Linked DNA regions of Homo sapiens: region 2 is linked to region 1. The links are contacts of gene promoters, found by promoter capture Hi-C in human tissues and cell types (Jung and others, 2019). All regions are on one chromosome and are shown on one strand. The core of a region is centred on a gene start or on the middle of the fragment in contact, and the rest is flanking DNA. Distances in the headings are between cores, read along the strand shown.

Region 1 (5,539 bases), core at 1,074-3,573:
GGGCAGAAGAGCAGTGCGTGGGTGAGCGCGGGCGGCCCGCGGGCGAAGAAGCGGCGCAGGGCCCGGCGGCAGCGGGCGCGGGGACAGCCCCCCTGCGCAGCCCGGCCCAGGCACTGCGCCACATACTCGGAGCGCAAACGCTGGCACCGCGCGTCCGCCGTGCAGGCTTCGGCCGCGTCCACACATCGGTTCCCTCCGACCGAGCTCGCCGACCCTGGGAAAGGCGCGGGGAGGCTGCAGGTCTCAGTGCGCCCCGCATGCACACTTCACCCAGCCCATCCACGCCCCTGGAAGGTGGGGGACACTGAAAACCCGAGAAAGCATAGAGTGTGGCCCAAAGGCGGGGCCGACTGGCACTGATCGGCTCTCCGTCGTGGGGATGGGCAGCGGCGGGCTCTGGAGGGCTCTGCAACACGTCAGGGATGGAGAGGGAGCATGGAGGCTGAGCCAGGCCTTCCCCAAAAGCTGAAGCCCCTCCTTCCCAAGCATCGCCACCATTTCTCCAGAACGGCCACACACGTCCAAAGACGGGTCCAGGGGCTCCTCCTACACTCAATGGCACTACCTGACGGGGGAACAATGAGGCTTTCTGGGGATCTGGCCAATGGAGACTTTAAAACCAGAGATGGCATAGAAGACAGTGGCTGCTCCTAGTCTCTTAATGACAGGCTGTGACGCCATACCTTTCCTCCTCTACCCCCTCCACCTCGCCGCTTATCCTCCACCATGGAGACCCTTTGGGTGGGTCTATTGATTTCTGTTTCTCCCTCCTTCCTGACCTCCTGCTCCTCCTCCTGCCCCCTGCATGGGTGTCTCCCCTCTCCAGCCCTTCCTGATGCTCCCTTGAGTCGAGGTCATCCTGCCCCATCTGCACTGGCTTCCTCCAGCCCCTCCACCCTTCATCAGCCAGGGGAGAGCGGATTCATGCAAGAGCTCTGGCCACTGAAGAACCCACTGAGTCCTGGCTGCCAGGGTGTGGATTCAGAGAAGTCCCTGACGACACACCGCCGGGCTTTGTCCTGAGCCACAGGACCCAAGGGTTCATCAGTGGTTTTAGTGACCAGGCCCCATGATAGGTGACACCCTGCTGGAGACAGAGAAGGTGCCTGGCACCCCAGTCACACACCAGGGGTTGGGTAGACAGAGGGTGAGCTCTGCCCACATGCCCACAGGCTGTGTCTAAATAGAGCCAGGATAACTGGAAGTTGGGACTTGGCAGCCCCTTCCCAGGATTTGAGTCACAAAAACCAGGCTAATCGAATCCCCCCCAGCCTCCACAAGTTCTCCAGTCTGGAGCATCTCATTCAGACTAGAAGCCTTTCTGGTGCCCAGCCTGAGTGGACGTGCACAGCCTGGCCCCTCATCCATCTCCCTGTGTGTTTGTGCACAGGGGCTACGGGGTGGTATCCCCCCCCCAGGGCTGGGAGCAGGGTGCCTCTCTGGCAATGGCTGTGTCTTTCAGGCTGTGGATTGGACCGCGTGGTGAGAGTGATTCCTGCTGTGACTTCAGCACCTGCCTCTGCAGGAAGGATGAACATAGCTCGAGGGCTTAGAATGGTCCCTGAGTGGAGGGGATAGATGGCAGCGGGGTGAGTCCTCCCTTCCTCCCCTCCCCAAAGGGCACACTTTGCTTTCCTCTCACAGCCTTGCCAGGCACATCCTCAGGTCTCAGCTGCACACACCAGCACCTGATGTTGCCTAAGGGTTTGAACCCACCTCTGCCTGTTGCTTACCTGTCACCCTTGCCCAGAACACCCTTACCCAGTCTCCACCCTCACAGCAGCTCATCTCAGCTGCAAGATCTCCTCCACCTTAAACCTTTACCAGATTCCACTTTCCACACTACACTCGGTAAAGTGACCCCTCCCTCCGCGACATCCATGCAGGGACGGAGCAGTCCAAGAAGGTGGAACAACAGATGAACAACACCGAAGATTCACCAAGGAATCTGTGTGATGGGTAGGAGGGCTGGGGCTGAGGGGAGGGTGAGAGAGTTGGGAGATGGCAGACAATAGGCAAAAGTTCCTGGGGCACGGGTGCCAAGGCTGGACTCGGGAGGGGGATGGCGGTGGTGGCTTGACGGGGCTGGGAGGTGAGGTGCTCAGCACATAGTGGGGTCAATTGCCAGGGGTCCCCAAGCCGTGCGCACAGGCCTCTCACTGGCAACCCTTCCTGTGGTTCAGCTTTTCCTGGAATATCTTGCCCTCCCACCTTGTCACTGAGGAGCAGGGACAGAGAGGCCAGGGTTCGGGGTCCAGGGGAAGAGAGGGGCGCTCACCCAGTAACAGCAGCAGCAGCAGCGCAGGCCCCAGGCAGCGGACCATGCTGGACCTTCAACAGAGAAGGATGGCTGGCAGAGCCCTAGTCTGATAGGCGCCCCCTTCCTAGTGCCTCTGGAGCAGGAGCACAGTGAAAACCCAGCTGTCTGCGCTGATACCCCTGGGAGGAGCCTTTGCTGCAGCAACTCCCCGCCCTCATTAAGTCTCCACCCCAGGCTGCACCGTCAGGTAAACCTGGGAGCCACGGGATTCGGCGCCTGAATGTGCCTAGACGGACCCCAACACACTAGCCCTGCCACGCACACCCAGCAACACACAGACAACCACCCAGGGAGACCTGGTCTCTCCCATGCTAAACTAGGAACGCTATGAAACAGCATTTTTCTTTTCCTTTTTTATATAATTCTATTTTAAACTTAAAAAAATTTTTTTGAATAGAGTTGGGGTCTCGCTCTATTGCGCAGGCTGGTCTTGAACTCCTGGGCTCAAACCATCCTCCCACCTCGGCCTCTCAAAGTGCTAGGATGACAGGTGTGAGCCACCATGCCTGGCCTATTTTAAACTTCTTATTGTTGACTAATTTTAGACTTGCAGAAAAGTTGGAAAATGTAAGCATTTTCCTTACACCCTTCACCCAGCTTCCCCTGATGGTCCATCTTACTTAATCATAGTCCAATCATTACAGCTAGGAAACTAACCTTGGTACAATCCTGTTAACGAAACTGTAGACTGTTTTGCATTTCTCATTTTTCCACTAATGTCCTTTTTCTGTTCCAAGATCCATTCTAGGATCCCACATCACAGTTGTCTCCTTATTCTCCTCAATCTGGGAGTTCCTTCATCTTTCCTTATCTTTACCCTTGACACTTTTGAAGAATCCTGGCCAGTTATTTTGCAGAATGTTTCTCTTGAGTTGTCTGATGTTTTATTCTGATCAGAATGAGACACAGCATTGTTTTGACTAACCAAAAAGTTATTCTATAAGTAAATATTGAGGTTAAAAATCTCATCCAACCTGGGCAACAGAGTAAGGCCCTGTCTCAAATAAAGTCTCAACACTAAGATTTAAAAAGTGACCAGAAAAGCCCCCACTATGATTTGTCTTGACTTTTTTTTAAAAAACAAACAAACAAACAAACAAACAAACAAAAACGATGTCTTGCTCTCTCTCTCCCTCAGGCTGGAGTGCAGTGGCACGATCTTGGCTCACTGCAACCTCCGCCTCCCAGGTTCAAGCGATTCTTCTGCCTCAGCCTCCCAGGTAGCTGGGATTACAGACGCCCGCCACCATGCCCGGCTAATTTTTGTATTTTTAGTAGAGACAAGGTTTCACCATGTTGGCCAGGCTGGTCTCGAACTTCTAACCTCAAGTGACCCGCCCACCTCTGCCTCCCAAAGTGCTGGAATTACAGACGTGAGCAACTGCGCTTGGCCTCATTAGCATCTTAAATCTCCACACAGGGGTGTGTTCCTTACTATTATAAGGAGCAAAGGATCAGTTTGAGGACAGGTAAAATAAAAATGCGCTTGCTGCCTAGAGGGAGAAGTCCCTGCTGAAGATAGCTTTGCTTGAATGAGCTCAATTGCAATGCCAGTGCTGAGGCTTGTTGACTGTACGGTCACCACAGTTGCTGCTGCGCGCCTAGAACATGGTCACTTTCTTGACTACCTATCCTGTCTCAGTACATCTGTCTGTGGTTTGTGGTGGTCCATTTCCTAATTTTTTTAATGAATCAGAAGACTGTGATGTGCTTTCCGCTGTGCTAACCATGGCCGCTGAAGCAAAATGTAAACCAAGATGCCCCTGCAGTGGTTGTGCTTCACTCTACGACATCTGTTACCGGAAAGGGGTCCAGATTCAGACCCCAGGAGAGGGTTCTTGGATCTCGTGCAAGAAAGAATTTGAGACGAGTCCATAAAGTGAAAGCACATTTATTAGGAAAGTAAAAGAATAAAAGAATGGCTACTCCATAGAGAGCGCAGCCCTGAGGGCTGCTGGTTGCCCATTTTTATGGTTGTTTCTGGATGATCTGCTAAACAGGGGTGGATTGTTCATGTCTCCCCTTTTTAGACCATATATGGTAACTTCCTGATACTGCCATGGCATCTGTAACCTGTCATGGCGCTGGTGGGAGTGTAGCAGTGGGGACGACCAGAGGTCACTCTCATCACCATCTTGGTTTGGGTGGGTTTTAGCCAGCTTCTATATTGCAAGCTGATTTTTTTGTTTGTTTTGTTTTTTGAGACGGAGTCTCGCTCCAGGCTGGAGTGCAGTGACACGATCTCAGCTCACTGCAACCTCCACCTCCTGGGTTCAAGCGATTCTCCTGCCTCAGCCTCCCAAGTAGCTGGGATTACAGGCACACACCACCATGCCTGGCTAGTTTTTGTATTTTTAGTAGAGATGAGGTTTCACCTTGTTGGCCAGGCTGGTCTCGAACTTCTGACCTCAGGTGATCCGCCCACCTCAGCCTCCCAAAGTGCTGGGATTACAGGCGTGAGCTACCGCGCCTGGCCTACTGCAAACTATTTTATCAGCAAGGTCTTTATGACCTGTATCTCCTATCTCATCCTGTGACGCAGAATGCTGTAACTGTCTGGAAACGCAGCCCAGTAGGTCTCAGCCTTATTTTGCTCAGCCCCTATTCAGGATGGAGTTGCTCTGGTTCACAGGCCTCTGACACATCCTCTTGTGTTTTGGCGTGTGGGAGGAAAGAGGGGTGAGGGAAGGAAACTCAAAACCAAGCTCTGACCACACAGGGCAGGTACACTCTCCCACCTGTCTGTGGGTGCCACAAGTCAAGGGAGGGGCAGAGAGAGAAGAAGGTGTGACAGATGGCCGCAGGCCACAGAATGTCAGAGGAAGCCCAGTTCCTCCCGGGGCAGCCCAAGTAGCTGGTAGTTGGGTGGCCAAACAGAGGGCGTCACAGCTGAGCTGGGCTCGCTCGCTACCCCCAGCTCAGCGTCCACTCTGCCCCTCAGTACCTCCTGCTCAGCCTCAGGGTCCATGCCTACCCTCCTGCTTCCCAGTCACTTCTGCGTGCCTCCTGCTTTTCTGCTGTTGGCCCCATGCCAGCTCCTTTCTGCTGAGCTTCTCTTCTCCAGTTCTGCAGCACAGCCAGGTGATCCTGGGCTCCAGACAGGCCTCTCCCCCAGTCTGGGGCCTCCCCTCTTAGAGCCCTCTTTCCTTCCCACGTGGCCTCCCCAGGGTTCGCCACTGAATGGAGAAGGGGTGGAGGGGGTGCTGGGCAGTCTTGGGG
Region 2 (5,678 bases), core at 2,525-5,024, 45 kb before region 1:
GGTGGAGTGGTGAGGCTCTGGCTCGTTCCCGACTCTGCAACAGAGGTTGTTACTGTAATGTGGAGCTAATATAGAAGTCTGCGTGCTGGGTGTTTCATCTACTGTTTTATGTAAGAGGCCAGTGTTCACAAGTAAAGGCAACACAGAATTGGTATTGAGAACTGGGCATTCATTTAGATTTTAGAGTTCTGTTTATGGGTGCTAACAGGATCGCTATACTGAGCAAGGGATGTGTGAAACTTTTGTTCACTTGGATGTGCTTTTTTTCTTATAACAGCTTTATTGAGACATCATTTACATACCATACAGTTCGCTCATTTAAAGTACACAATTCAGTGGTTTTCAGTGTATTCACAGAAGCGTGCAGCCACCCGTCACTACAGCCAATTTTAGAATATTTTCACCACTTCCAGAAGAAGCCCCTAGCAGTCAGTCCTCATTCCCCCCTCTTCCGGCAACCCCCAGTCTGTATTTCCTGTCTCTGTGGATTTGCCTATTCTGGACATTTTATATAAATTGAGTCACATGATATGCTCTCACTTAGCATACTGTTTTCAAGGTTCACCCGTGTTTAGTATGTTTCAGTACTTATTCCTTGTCATAGCTGAATAATCTTCCTTATATGTATATACCACGTTTTGTTTATCCATTTTTCTATCGATGGATGCTTGGGTGGTTTTCACTCTTTGGCTATTATGAATAGTGTCAGATATACTTTTAATGTTTATATTTATTGTATAATAACAGTGCATATCCGTACCTCCTGGTGTTAATTGTCTGTATCTTAAGAGTTTTAAGAATTATATGGTTGTGCTGTAATTCTAGCACTTAGGGAGGCCGAGGCGGGCAGATCGCTTTAGCTCAGGAGTTTGAGACCAGGCTGGGCAACATAGTAAAACCCTGTCTCTACTAAAGTACAAAAAATTAGCTGGGCGTGGTGAAGTGTTCCTGTAGTCCCAGCTACTTGCAAGGCTGAGGCACAAGAATCACTTGAACCCAGGAGGCAGATGTTGCAGCGAGCCAAGATTGCACCACTGTACTGCAGCCTGAGCGACAGAGCAAGACTCCTGTCTCCAAAAAAAAAAAAAATTTTTCTTTATGATGAAACCCACAAGGCTGTACAAGAACCTTAAATATAGTTTGAAACAAAGAAAGACACATGCTTTTAAGTACAGTTTAATTCTTTTCTTTTTTCTTTTTTCTTTTTTTTTTTTTTTGGAGACAGAGTCTCACTCTGTCGCCCAGGCTGGAGTACAGTGGTGCAATCTTGGCTCGCTGCAACATCTGCCTCCTGGGTTCAAGTGATTCTCGTGCCTCAGCCTTGCGAGTAGCTGGGACTACAGGAACACTTCACCACGCCCAGCTAATTTTTTGTATTTTAGTAGAGACAGGGTTTTACCATGTTGCCCCCATCATTCTCAGCAAACTATCGCAAGGACAAAAAACTGAACACCGCTTGTTCTCATTCATAGGTGCAAACTGAACAATGAGGACGCATGGACACAGGAAGGGGAACATCACACACCAGGGCCTGTTGTGGGGTGGGGGGAAGGGGAAGGGATAGCATTAGGGGATATACCTAATGTTAAATGACGAGTTAATGGGTGCAGCACACCAACATGGCATATGTATACATATGTAACAAACCTGCATGTTGTGCACATGTACCCTAAAACTTAAAGTATAATTAAAAAAAAAAAAAAGAAAAATGTGTTATTCCTTTGTCTCGAAAGTCCCCTGCTTTTCAGCTTTCGCTTTGGTTGTCTCTTGTCAGCTCTTTAATGCTATTGTTCCCTTGGGTTTCATCTGGACTCTTTTTCCCTGGGCAATCTCATCCACACCATCTGGGAACATTGCCTTTGGCTGGACAGGTAAATCTTTGTCTCTAGCAGACTTCTCTCCTGTGATCTCCAGAGCCAGGAACCCACTAGACTTCCTTAAAATTCATTCAGCCAGCAGACTTTCTGGCCCAGAGCAGCAGCTGTGAGTGGACAGCAGGCACCTCGTTAGAAGCTCGGTGTTGGAGGTGTGCCCATGCATTCCTGGGAGCCATGAGAGGGGAGGGGAGTGCCCTGTGTCACCTGAGTCCAAGTTAAGAGAGATCACACCAGAGCTGATTCCTAAGGAGCATGGGGGCGGGGGAAGGGGGTGTTCGTGGTGGGGAAAGGAAATGACCAGCCCTTTCAGGAACTACCAGGAGTTTAGCAGAGCTGGTGACAGTGCTATGAGCAAGAAGGTGGAGAGCTGGGGAGGGCCATTATGAAGAGACTGGAGATTGCAGGCTGTGAACTTGAGTCCTGATGTGACTGGGAATTGTTGAGATGTTTTAGGCCGAAAAGTCACCGACGATCAGTGTTTAGAAAGACCCCACTGGCAGCAGTTGGGAGTGTGGATTGGAAGGAGCCAGGCCTAAGTCCTGGGAGGACTTAGGAGGTCCAGGAGTCCAGGGAGTCCAGGTGGAATTCTTGTGTAGAAACCCAGGGAAGGGGACCATCTGATGACACACATCCCATAGCAACTTCCTTTCCTCCTCTGCACCTCCACAGCAGAGTGTCTGTTTCCACTATACGAAGATTTCTTAATGGCAAGGATCGCATTTTTATCCCTCAGTGTCCTCAGTGTCATGTGCTAATCAGTTGGAGATACTCCCTAAATGTATGCCAGATGAGTATATAGTTGTTAGTATAAGGGCTTTACGGTAGGTATCAGAACTTTTTCTTTTTTACAACTTTTATAACTTTTATAAAGGAGCCGACACCTTTTTCTGATATTGTCAGAACAATTGCTGACCAGTGCTATGGGCTGGCTGAGGTTGGCAACCAAGAATCTGTTATCTCAGTCTACACAGCGTGGAGTTAGAAGATTGGATTGTTGTTGGTTAGAATTTTGTCCAGAGAGTTAGAAGATAGAAGAAAAGGGAGGGCTGAGGACATAAACATCCAAATTTTACAAAGAAGAAAGTTCAGTGCTCCTGTCAATATTGAAATAGTTAAGAGGGAAATGATTGGGTCTGGGGAATGCTTCAAAATAATATGATCATAGGGAAAGTAAGTGTAGTGTGGATGAAACAAGGTTGGCCTTGAGCTGATAATTTACTAAAGCAGGATGATGAGCGTGTGAGGTTCATTATAGTGCTCTTTCTACTTTTTAAAAAGCTTAAGATTTTCCAAAATGAAAAAGAAGCTGAGCATGGTAGCTCATGTCTGTAATCCCAGCACTTTGAGAGCCTGAGACGGAAGGATCACTTGAAGCCAGGAGTTCGAGACCAGCCTGGGCAATATAGTGAGACCCCCATCCCTACTAAAAAAGAAAAAAAATTACACAATGAAAAGAATAATACAGGTGGTAGAAGAAGAAATAAAGGTATGAGTATATGATTTGGCCTCCTACAGACAGCTACAGGAGCATGCCTCTGCTGGGCGGGCCTGGAGCATAGTGCACCCTGGAGCTGAAGTTCTGTTCGCCTTTACAGGAAGTACACAGCATTGTACGGGGGTTTTACCAGTTAACAGTGGACAGTCTCTAGAACACTCAGGGGTCAGGGGCAAAACTCCCTCTCCCTCAAACCAGCCCACCTGTCTTGGTGAGAATGGAAAACGGAGCTTCCCAGCAAGCCTCCTGCCTTCACCCCGACGCACAGGTGCATCAGGGTCTGAGGGCTCCTCCCTGTGGGGCCTGGGAAGCCGCCCTTCAGTGGGCTATGGCTGCATTGTCTTCTGATCTTGTAGCTGTGTGTGGGTAACAGGCACATCGTCTCCCCATATCCCAGAGAGTCATGTCCACTTCCTATCTGTGGTGGCATCTTTCCATCACTGTCACCCTCAGGATAATGGCACAGGAACTAACAGAGGCACTAAGAGCAGTGATATATACTGGAGGGAGGGGCGGGGCTGATGACCAAAATCACCTTCTGTTTCAGTAAGAGGTTGGTTAAAGTGATGCCTAAAATGGATAGATCAGGAAATAACAATAAAAACATTAATGATAAAAAGGCAACTGCCAGAAGAACTGAAAAGTAACCTAGTTCAAGGTGGGGGTCCCTGGAGAGAAGCCTTCAGAAGAGCAGAGGAAGAGCAGGGAACATTGCTTTTCATGACTAGCCTTTCAGTACCTTTTGATATTTCAGCTAAGTATGTAGTTCTCTAATGATTTCTAAATTGTTAATGAGTGTGATAGAATAGGAATTCTGGAGAATGGTCAAAAGGAATTGCTAGGAGAAAATTAGGGAAAGAAAGCACAGAGCAGTATTGAGGTGGGAGGTTGGGAGCAGACAGATGGTGAGTGTTCGTTTGCATGGCAGGAATGAGTGGCTGAATGGCATTAACTGGCCATGGGGCTCTGACCAGAGCTTGGGTATACAGTTTCTGTGCCAGCACAAACCAGCATTAGGTGCGTGGTGTGTGAGGCCGGGTGATGGTCATATGGATCTGGTCCAGAGCTGTGGTCTTGACATAGAGTTCCATGTATGAACTTTGGTGGTGGTGGTGGTTTTGTTTCGTTTTTTAAGAAAAAAGGAAGAGTTGTTTTATGTCACAGCCAAACTCAAGGAGGTGACAGCACAAGACCCAGGTTAGAATGTACTTAGCCAGGGCTCACGGAATCTTCCATCCTTTGCAAAGCCAAGAAGAGTAGAGGCCTCAAGGAGAATAGAGGAGCACATGGGCTCCTTCTGGGCTGAGCTCTCACCCTTGGTGGGGCCGCTGGTCCCAGGGGGTCGTTGGGAGCCTGCGGAGATTCTGCCCAGTACATACATACCTTGCGTTTTCTCGGAGCCTGACAGGTGCTGCCTTGAAGCGGAAAGACTTCACCTCACAGGGTGGCCAGCTGTCCTTTCTCTTCCTCTCCCTGTCTTGTGTGCTCATGATAATGGATAGATAGACATCTCCATGGTAGAAATAATGCAGCCCTTTCTGCAGTCCATGGTTCCACAGCATATGGTCAGTAGACTTAGATGAGTGCTACATAAAGTGTAATTAGTTCTGCACCACGGTGTCTTACCTTCTGAAAAGGAAACTCTGGTATTGACTTAGAAATGCCAGTTTTATCCTTCCGACCAGAACGCAAGTCCTGAATGAGGCCAGAGGCCAATGAAAGGTCCTTTCTTCTCTCTTTTCAAATCTGCTGTATTAAACAGTGACTTTTCCTAGTCATTCAGTATTCATTCATTCATCCATTTATTCAAGTTTTTGAGTACCTTCTTTGTGGATGGCACATAGTAGATGCAAAAATACAATCATTTTTAAAATGGAAAGCATTTGTTATGTGGTAGTGGAATATAAGAAATGCCATGCTTCCATATTTTTATGGTAATCTTGGACTCAGGTTCTACCCACCATACTTAATTAGAAATTCATTCTCAGCCTCTGTTTTGGCAGAGACCCATTCTCTTCCCTCAGGAACATACAGAAACCTCAGGGCTGAACTGAGCTCAGAGGTTGGGGAAGGTCCCCTGGTCTGATCTTCAGTCGCTGACTGCTGCGCCCGATTCCCTGGCCCCTCACTCTTGAGGGCAGCATCCTCACTCTTGTGTGGCACAGGCTTGGACATAGAATGACACTTAAGCACCAGAGCCTCCCTAGCCTGCCACAAGGACACCCTACATTCCCAGGCACTTTCAGAATGCAAAACCTCCCCTCCATTCCCTCCCTTTCCCTGCCTCCAGGTTTGGGCCCTGCCTC

What was found. The method cuts DNA at HindIII sites, captures the fragments that hold promoters and counts their contacts. A contact is called where the count stands out against the background at its distance.
Region 2: a fragment that was not itself captured here is called in contact with the fragment with the promoter of GFRA4 in region 1 in 1 of the 25 tissues and cell types used here (pancreas).

The regions. Positions count from the first base shown.
Region 1 is chr20:3,661,076-3,666,614 of GRCh38, forward strand. GFRA4 (GDNF family receptor alpha 4) reads right to left here and starts at 2,324. Exons shown (of 6, transcript NM_022139.4): 1 at 2,279-2,324; 2 at 1-214. The coding sequence starts at 2,324. The HindIII fragment of the contact is 25,120 bases long and covers 1-5,539 here.
Region 2 is chr20:3,614,356-3,620,033 of GRCh38, forward strand. The region is part of intron 24 of ATRN (attractin); the gene reads left to right. Among named protein-coding and RNA genes, the nearest start is that of GFRA4, 46 kb to the right of the region's middle. The HindIII fragment of the contact is 5,534 bases long and covers 1,008-5,678 here.